Linked DNA regions of Homo sapiens: region 1 is linked to region 2. The links are contacts of gene promoters, found by promoter capture Hi-C in human tissues and cell types (Jung and others, 2019). All regions are on one chromosome and are shown on one strand. Each heading gives the region's core, a stretch centred on a gene start or on the middle of the fragment in contact. The rest is flanking DNA. Distances are from core to core; before and after follow the strand shown. Region 1 has its middle 84 kb from the start of LRRC3B-AS1. Region 2 holds the start of LRRC3B (leucine rich repeat containing 3B).

The links. The method cuts DNA at HindIII sites, captures the fragments that hold promoters and counts their contacts. A contact is called where the count stands out against the background at its distance.
Region 1: a contact is called between a fragment that was not itself captured here and the fragment with the promoter of LRRC3B in region 2, in 2 of the 25 tissues and cell types used here (mesendoderm cells and thymus).

Annotation. Positions count from the first base shown.
Region 1 is chr3:26,537,312-26,541,183 of GRCh38, forward strand. No RefSeq gene overlaps it. Among named protein-coding and RNA genes, the nearest start is that of LRRC3B-AS1, 84 kb to the right of the region's middle. The HindIII fragment of the contact is 3,824 bases long and covers 1-3,502 here.
Region 2 is chr3:26,620,706-26,624,767 of GRCh38, forward strand. LRRC3B (leucine rich repeat containing 3B) reads left to right here and starts at 2,067. Exons shown (of 2, transcript NM_052953.4): 1 at 2,067-2,532. It overlaps LRRC3B-AS1 (LRRC3B antisense RNA 1), which reads right to left and starts at 2,058. Exons shown (of 4, transcript NR_183726.1): 1 at 1,896-2,058; 2 at 228-267. RefSeq lists enhancers at 1,401-1,916, 3,509-4,062. The HindIII fragment of the contact is 7,905 bases long and covers 1-4,062 here.

The DNA.
Region 1 (3,872 bases), core at 341-2,840, 84 kb before region 2:
GTTCATTGATTGTGACAAATGTACCATATTAATGGGAAGACTGGGTATGTGGTAGATGGGAACTCTCTATGCTATCTTCCAAATTTTAATACATTTAATTTAAATATACTTTATCTGACCAAGTATTATCAAATTTTTCCCCAAATGGAAACCACGGTTTGTACCCTGTGCTCCCTCCATTTTCTTCCTGGTTATAGCTAAACATATGCTGACCCACACGTGTGTTATAAAGTCATGTGATGAACAGGTTAGATTTCAAGTAATTATTTTAATAATTTGAATTAAAAAACAGAATGAGTTTGGCAATGAGCAGCAGAAATGAAGGGAAAAGGAGGTGTAGCCAAATTTATTTGAAAGTAGAAGTTATTAGGGAGTCAAGAGGATCTGCAAGAGCAAATGAAAAAATCAATAGGAAGGGAGAGAACCAAATGCACAACAAGGAAAGCAGATATGCTCTGAAAAAAAGACCAGGTGGTCCATGAAAGAGGGAGACACCAATCTTTGGATCTGCCTCAATTTCCAGCTATTTTCTTGCCCAAACTCTGCCTTTATTTTTACCACAAAACCTTCTTTAGGCTGGGCATGGTGGCTCACATCTCTAATCCCAACAGTTTGGGAGGCTGAGGCAAGCTGACTGCTTGAGCCCAGGAGTTTGAGACCAGCCTGGGAAACATGGCAAAACCCCATCTCTACAAAAATTAGCCAGTGGTGCACTCCTGTAGTCTTGGCTGCTTGGGAGGCTGAGGTGGGAAGATCACTTGAGCCCAGACTGAGCTAAAATAAGCCATGATTGTGCCACTGCACTCCAGCCTGGGTGACAGAGCCAGACTCTGTCACAAAGAAAGGCAGAAAAGAAATTAAGAGAGAGAGACAGAGGGAAGGACGGAAGGAAGGAAGGAAGGGGAAGGGGAAGGGGAAAGGGAAGGAGAAGGGGGAGGGGAAGGGGAAGGGAAGAAAGAAACTGTCTTTGTCTGGTGATCTGGGGTCTGATGTTTGCATTATACTTGCCAAAACCAAATAAGATCATTGTGGGGCTGAATTTTATAGATACTTTTTGTTCATATTGAACTCTTATTTCTACTCTCTCTATTGAGTAGAGATAGTAGTCTCCCAAAGACTGCTGCCCTTGGATAATAAACAGACTCTGATCATTTATTAGCCAATAACTCTAGAAGTTGTCTAAGACAAGGGAACTAAACTCCTTATTCAATCCCCTGGGATAGTGTTTCTTGGGCAGAGAAGGGGCTTGCAGAATACTTGGAGTTGGGGGATAATTATATAATAGCATTCAGTTGCAATGGATTCTTGCTGGTAAATGTTAAATTATCATTCTTGAGCAAGTGTTCTCACAGAAGCATAGACTTGCAGTATATCATGGCTCATTTTTTAGTGAAAACAAGTAAATGATTATGAAAAACTAACTAATATGCATGATTGTACCCCAGCTCCCTATAACCCTTCCCTGCTTTTGGCTGGAAATGTTAATTCATAACTGAGAAATCACAACCAAATAAATGAAACTCTTTGAGAGAACCATTCTTCTTCTTTATTGCAGCATGCTGAAATCTTCTTTATGGAATAGCTCAAGGAAGCACAAGTAGCAAATCAGATACTTTTACCACCCCTGAGAATTTTTTAAGCTCCCCATGAATCTGAAGCTAATTTACAAGTTTTGATTGTTCTCAATCTGAAATGAAGCTCAGGTAGGTTAGGCAAACGGTCTCACTGGCCCAATTTCCTTCCATTCCACATAGGCAACATCCTTCCTATTTGGAGAGTATGTTGATAATGTTTTGTCACTAATGATTCTGGCCTGCTGAGAGTCCCTGAAGACAACAATGGTTTTTAAAGGGAGTTATAATTGTTAGACTTTGCTAATGCTCCTTGAGATCCTTGTTGTGCCACAGCAGTTACCTAATATTCCCCAATATCCCCATAGAGAATTAAACCAAAGCCTTCTGGTGCCATCTGGTATAATAACTGGAAAACTGAACAAAACCTTTAGTATGAAGTTGCAATGCAATTACAGTCTAACCTAAGGAAGGAAAAAAGGAACAATAATTTAATCAAGAACAAACATATTTTTTAAAAGTCTTTCTATCCAAAACTTTGTTAGTGAGAAGAACATAAGCATCAGGAAAATCATAGTCTCTGACCTCAGTGAACTCACAATCTAGCGGGAAAAGCAGAAGCATAAAGTACAAACTAAGCACAATCAGAAAAGCTGCTCAATTGTGTTCAGGTGACAGGGGCCTAGGGATAAAGCTAATAAGAAAGGACTAATACTTTAGGAATAAAGAATGGGACAGAGAAAGCATTCGAGATAAGATAACACTAAATTTGGGACCAACAGATGAGTAGAAGTCTTCCAAGAGAAAAGACCAGGGAATGATATTCTAGGGAAAGGAAATAGAAAAATCAAAGATATGGAAGCATAAAAATGCTTATATGTCAGGGAAAAGTTGGATAATATCATAGGGCTAGAATAGTTCTACTTGAAGTGTGATCCATGAACCAGCAGGATCATCACCTGGGAGCATATTAGAAATGCCAATTATCAGACCACAATTCTTATTGCCTGAATGAGACTCTCTGGAAGAGGGATTTAGCAGTCTAATTTAGCTCTTTGGGTGATTCTGACACAGGTTTGAGCAGCACTGGACTGAAACACTAACTGATTTTGGAGATGGACTACGGGGAAGGGGAGCAGGGTAGATTGGAGGTGGGGCCATGTCTTGATGAATCATGGTCATTAATTAAGCATAATTAAGCTAACTGAAAATACAATGAATGAAATAAATGATTGGTTTTGAATAAATAGCACCATGTCACCCAAAAATAAACATAATATCAGGATGTGAATGTCACAGTGATGATCCAAGGACGATAACTAACTAGATGTGTCCACCTTACAAGACAGAGCAGAGCTAGCTGAAATTAAATGTTGAGAGAGGGAAATTGTAGAAGTGGCTGAAATATCCACTATAAAATATATTACAAAAGAGATGTGAATTGAAATAAAACTAGAATTTATCTTTCCTTTGCCAATTTTTCTCAAGTATTCCTTTTATTCAACATGTGTTAAATACCTACTATATGCTAGGTACTTTGCCACATACTGCGGACATAACCCAAATGTGATGGTCCTTGGCCTCAAGAATGTTATCATCTATTGCAAAATGACTATTAGCACTTATGGAGTGCTTACAAAGTGCCAATCACTGTCTAACATTGGAAATAATCTTATTTTCTGAGCAACATCCCTGAGTAACTTACCTGAGTCTGTTTGATTCCAAAGCTTACATTCTTTTTCTAATACCATGTTGTTTATTTGCATATGGCCAGAGGAACTTCATTATTATTATTAACAATGTTACTAAATACTTCTCTAGTCTAAATGGATCAAAGTTGCTATACTATTGATAGGCCAAGGCCCTTGATGATGGACATGCCATGTATTCCTGCACGACTGTGAAATTCATTTTCGCCTCTTCTGGATATGATAAATCTTGTTTCTCCCCATTTGAGCAGGTTGGTGTATCTTCTTCACCATTTTTGGCTTTGCTGACTCTTGGATCTCTCCCATAGTCATTAGTAGAGTGTTCTCCTTCTCTCTAAAACCCTATTTTGACACCTTGGATTCTCCTATTCCCCTACCTACTTAACCTCCCCTAGGATAATGTAGATTTTAGAAATAGATAGGCAAGCTTAAAAAATCAGACTAGAGGTATGGGTAATCAAACAAAATCAAAGTGTCCAGGTGGTCAATACCCCCATGTTGGAGAAATACAGGTGAGTATGCTACACCCGACTATTTTTTAGAATTTAAAAGTCTTGATTGGATTTGCTGCATCATAATGGGACACATCAGG
Region 2 (4,062 bases), core at 817-3,316:
CTCTCTTGGTAGACATTTGAGTTTAGTTTTGTTTCTTTTCAATTTTTCACTAATATAAACAACACTACAATGAATATCCAGGTAGATAAATCTTGTTGCTCAACCTTAGTTATTTCCTGAGGATGAATTTGAAGAATTAGAGTCACTGGAAAAATGAAATGCAAAAATGTTATGCTTTCAATAGCATGCCAAATTTCCCTTCAGAAAAACGACACCAAATTACATACCTGCTATCCACATGTATCTATGTTTGTGTTCTAAAATCTCCTTTAAAAAACAAAAACAAAAATTAAAAAAAAAAAAAACTTTAAACCGCAATCTTTTAAATCACAGTATCATAACGTCTAAGAGACAGAAGATATCTTAAGAGTCATTTAGTCTAATCTCCTGCATTATGGACATACTTTTTCATGCAGCATTCCTGATCTGAGGTATCTATCGTGCAATTTGTAGAAGGTGGGACAGAAAACAAACAAACAAACAAACAAATCTTAAATATCCTTAAACTACAAAGCAATTTTCTTCACCTCTGAGCAATGTAACACTGTTCAAACTGTTCTAAAATGCATCCAGAATAAGAGTGCTTCAATAGAAATGAGGAAACTTTGGCAGGCTTTCAACATACTTGACACAGGTCAAGAAATAATCAAGATTTTTTGGTCATTCTCCACTTGGAATGGGTTTGCTCTAGGTGTTGGCAGCTGAACATACATGTCTTGCTCTAGGCAGTTGCTTAGCAGTTTGGTTTTCTTTTGCTTTTGGGAATTCAGGAAACAGAGGTGGGTGGTCAGTGGGAGAAGGTTGATTGTCTAGAGACCAAAATGAATTAAATACTTTATTACCTTTCCAGTAAAGGGGCTGTGAGTCTAACTGTATGTGTGGTTCCCTCCACCACACCCTAAATCAAAAGTTCCATCCCTGGAGTCTCTTTAATTCTAGAGACACTGAGATTTAGCTCATACAGAAGGAGAAAATGACCTTCAACTGGATAAGCTTTCCTTGAGTACCCATTAGATACAAAACACTGCTGGATGTTGCAGTGAGAACAAACAAACAAAAAGCACAGGGAATACTCATATGTGAGTGAAGAGATAAATCTATAAATATATAAGTTCCGCAAGTGATTGGCAAATAAAATTCTGAGAGGGCAAAGAGAGGGGAAAGATTTCTGCCTCGAGTCAGAGGACTGGGGTAGCGGAAAAAAGCTTTAGAAAAAAAGGTGGTATTTGTAGAGTCTGGAGAGGCGGGTTCCTCTGCCCCAAACTGGTGTCTACTGCAGATATGGTAAATAATTAAAATCATGAAATAAGAACATCACTAAAACCATTAATTTGACTTACTCTTAAAACACACGCGCGCACGCGAGCGCGCTCGCACACACACACACTGGCGTGCGCGCGCTTTTTTAAGGGGCCTATAGACTCCATTTCGGCTGCAGGTTAAAGTCATCCCAGGAAGGAGAAAGGAAAATTGAATTCCACCTTCTTCTGATTTAGAAAGCTAGATTGGTTGAGGATCGGGATCAGGGACCACAACTCAACCCCGAAACTTTGGGCTTCCAGAACTGCAGGGGAAACTGATTCTGAGATCAGACAACGGACCCTGGGGCGGGAGGGGGGTACCTTATTCATAACCCTCCCTCACAATAGCGGAGCACAGTACTCAGCACCCAGTAAACACTCATTTGTCGAATTGATTTTAAGCCTCCGCTTTTCCCCCAAGGAGGGCAATCAATCCCTTGCACGTTTTGCTCCTTTCACCAGCTTAATTCAGCTCTGATCTCAGTAGTTAGAAAAATAGGAGAAAGAATGGGGCCATAGCCTGCTGCAAGTAGAGCTGTGTAAGGGGGTGCGAGGAAGGCAGGCGAGAGCAGCAGAGGGAGTTAATACTCCTACCTCAGCTGGTCTCCGGCAGCCAACGCTCAGCCCCCGCCTCCTCTCTCCATTCCGGACCCCGCAACCGCGAGGCGAGAGAGCAGCGCCGGCGAGGCACTGGCTGGGCTCTGACTGTCACGTTAATTCCCTGCTGCTTTTTCTAGTCCCCAGCCGCCTCGCCCCTCCTCCCTCATTCCCAGCCTGGGTTTGGAGGCGATTTCCCTCTATTGACTGAGCCGACTGCATCTCTGGGCAAGCGGCGCTTTGCCTCTCTCCTGTCTTTGTCTGCTCTTCCTGCAAGGCTACGGCGCCTGGAGCAGGGTCTGCAGCGGCCGCCGCAGCAACGCGAGCCAAGTCGTGCCCCGCACGGCCGCCCGGGGCCGCACCCTCGCTCGGTGGCGGCGCCCGAAGACGCCAGCCGCGCCACGCACTGCCTGCGTCCCGCGCCCCAGCCGCCGCGCACCAACGCCGCCGCCTTCGCCGGGAGCCAAGCCCGCCGGGCCGGCCCGGTCCCAGGTGGGCAGCTCGGCTTGCAGCTGGTTGGAGGTGGCGGCCGCTGCAGCCCTGGCAGCGGGCACACCCCTAAGCATACGCACCCAACGCCTCCTCCCTGAGCCACGAGGATGGAGCAGCCACCCCGGCCCGGGACTGGCGCAAGGTAAGGTGCAGCCGCCTGTTGCTTTTCGCAGAGCGCGGGATCATCCCTCTGCCCGGGTACCTAGGCCGTCCCTCCAAGGAACAAGTAGAGGAGAACTATTACACCAGTTCTAAGCCGTGCCTGTCTAAGCCTCCCTGATCCCTTTTGCGCAGACCCTGGGAGAGACCTCCTCCTGGAGAGAGAGAGTCGACCCTCTTCGCTCCTGTTCAGCCGGCTGCTATACAATAGTCTGCAAACTTTTGTGACCCCTTCCCTGCGCGGTGCTCACCCCGTGCTGTGCAACTTGCAGGTTTAGTTCTTGCCCTTCCCCCAGCCCCTCTTGCCATATGCATCTGCCCATTTCTCTCTGTGTGTTCTTGCCAGTCGACTTTTCACTCCCCGCAGCTCTGGCTCCTGAGGCGAGGGTTTGGGACCCAGCAGTGCTCGTCCTGCCTCTAGGAGCTGGGTAGGGACAGAGAAGGTGAAATAAGAGAGGTGGGACATGGAGGATGGCTGCGGCCACCCCTGAAGCTTCGTCCAGCGCGATGGGAGTCAGTCCATCCTTGCACACGCCACCCCCAACTCGGCAATGAAACCTTTGGAGTGGCTTGCGGCTGTGCGCCGTGGGAACTGCAAGTGCAGATATGGGTGGGTGAAGTAAGTGGCTCAGGGAGGGAAAGGCTGCTCGTGCGGTGGAGGAGGAAGCTGAGGGTCGGGTAGATCTGCCCACGGTTGAGGGAAATGAAAAGGTACTGCTAATGTGGGCGAGCGGCCAGCCCTGAGAGGCCATCTGACGAAGAGGAAAAGGGATTTGAGTCCGGAGGGCGCTGGCCTGGGTATGTAAATACAGATGGGGGAGGGGCTGGGTACCTGGGGGCGCGTGGAGACAAGGAATGGAGCCCCGGAATGCCGGGCCCTTGGGTACTTGGGAAGGCAGGCTGCTGAGTGCCTGGGATGGGGCGATCTTCCTCCCCAGAAGCAAACAAACCTCCCCGCGAGAATCTGAATGCGTTGGCATCTTGGGTGGTGACTGAATGGTCAGATCGTGGACTAGGGATGCTTCTCCAAGCTCTAAGAGGACCATAGTCTGCTCTCTTCTCTGGCACCCGCTTGCTTCTACGCTCCTTCACCTCTGCAGCCAGGTCGGTAGACCCACGCCCACCTTCCCTGCCAGGCACTCAGGAGTCAAGGATGTTTCCACAGCCGCAGTGTAGGAAGGGGACTCCTGCCTCCCAGGGGGAGACGTGTGTGCGGGGTAGAGGGGAGTCCCCAGCGCGCGGCGAGTAAACAGGGGTCCAAAGTGGTTGGAGGAGAGCGCAGGAGCGGAGGCTGCGGTGGGAGCCACTTTCCCCCGCCCCTCCACAAATCGCACCTGGGCGGAGCGAGGGAGTGGGGGGAGCCCTGTGCTGCGCCCGGGAGGCTGGGGAGCGCAGAGCTGGAGGGCGTGCAGGGAAACGCAGAGCTAGGAGGTGTGGGCCTCGGGTGAGGGGAGACCCAGCTCTTAGACCTGGGAGCCCAGACAGAGGTGGATCTGCCCACCTTGCAGCTCCC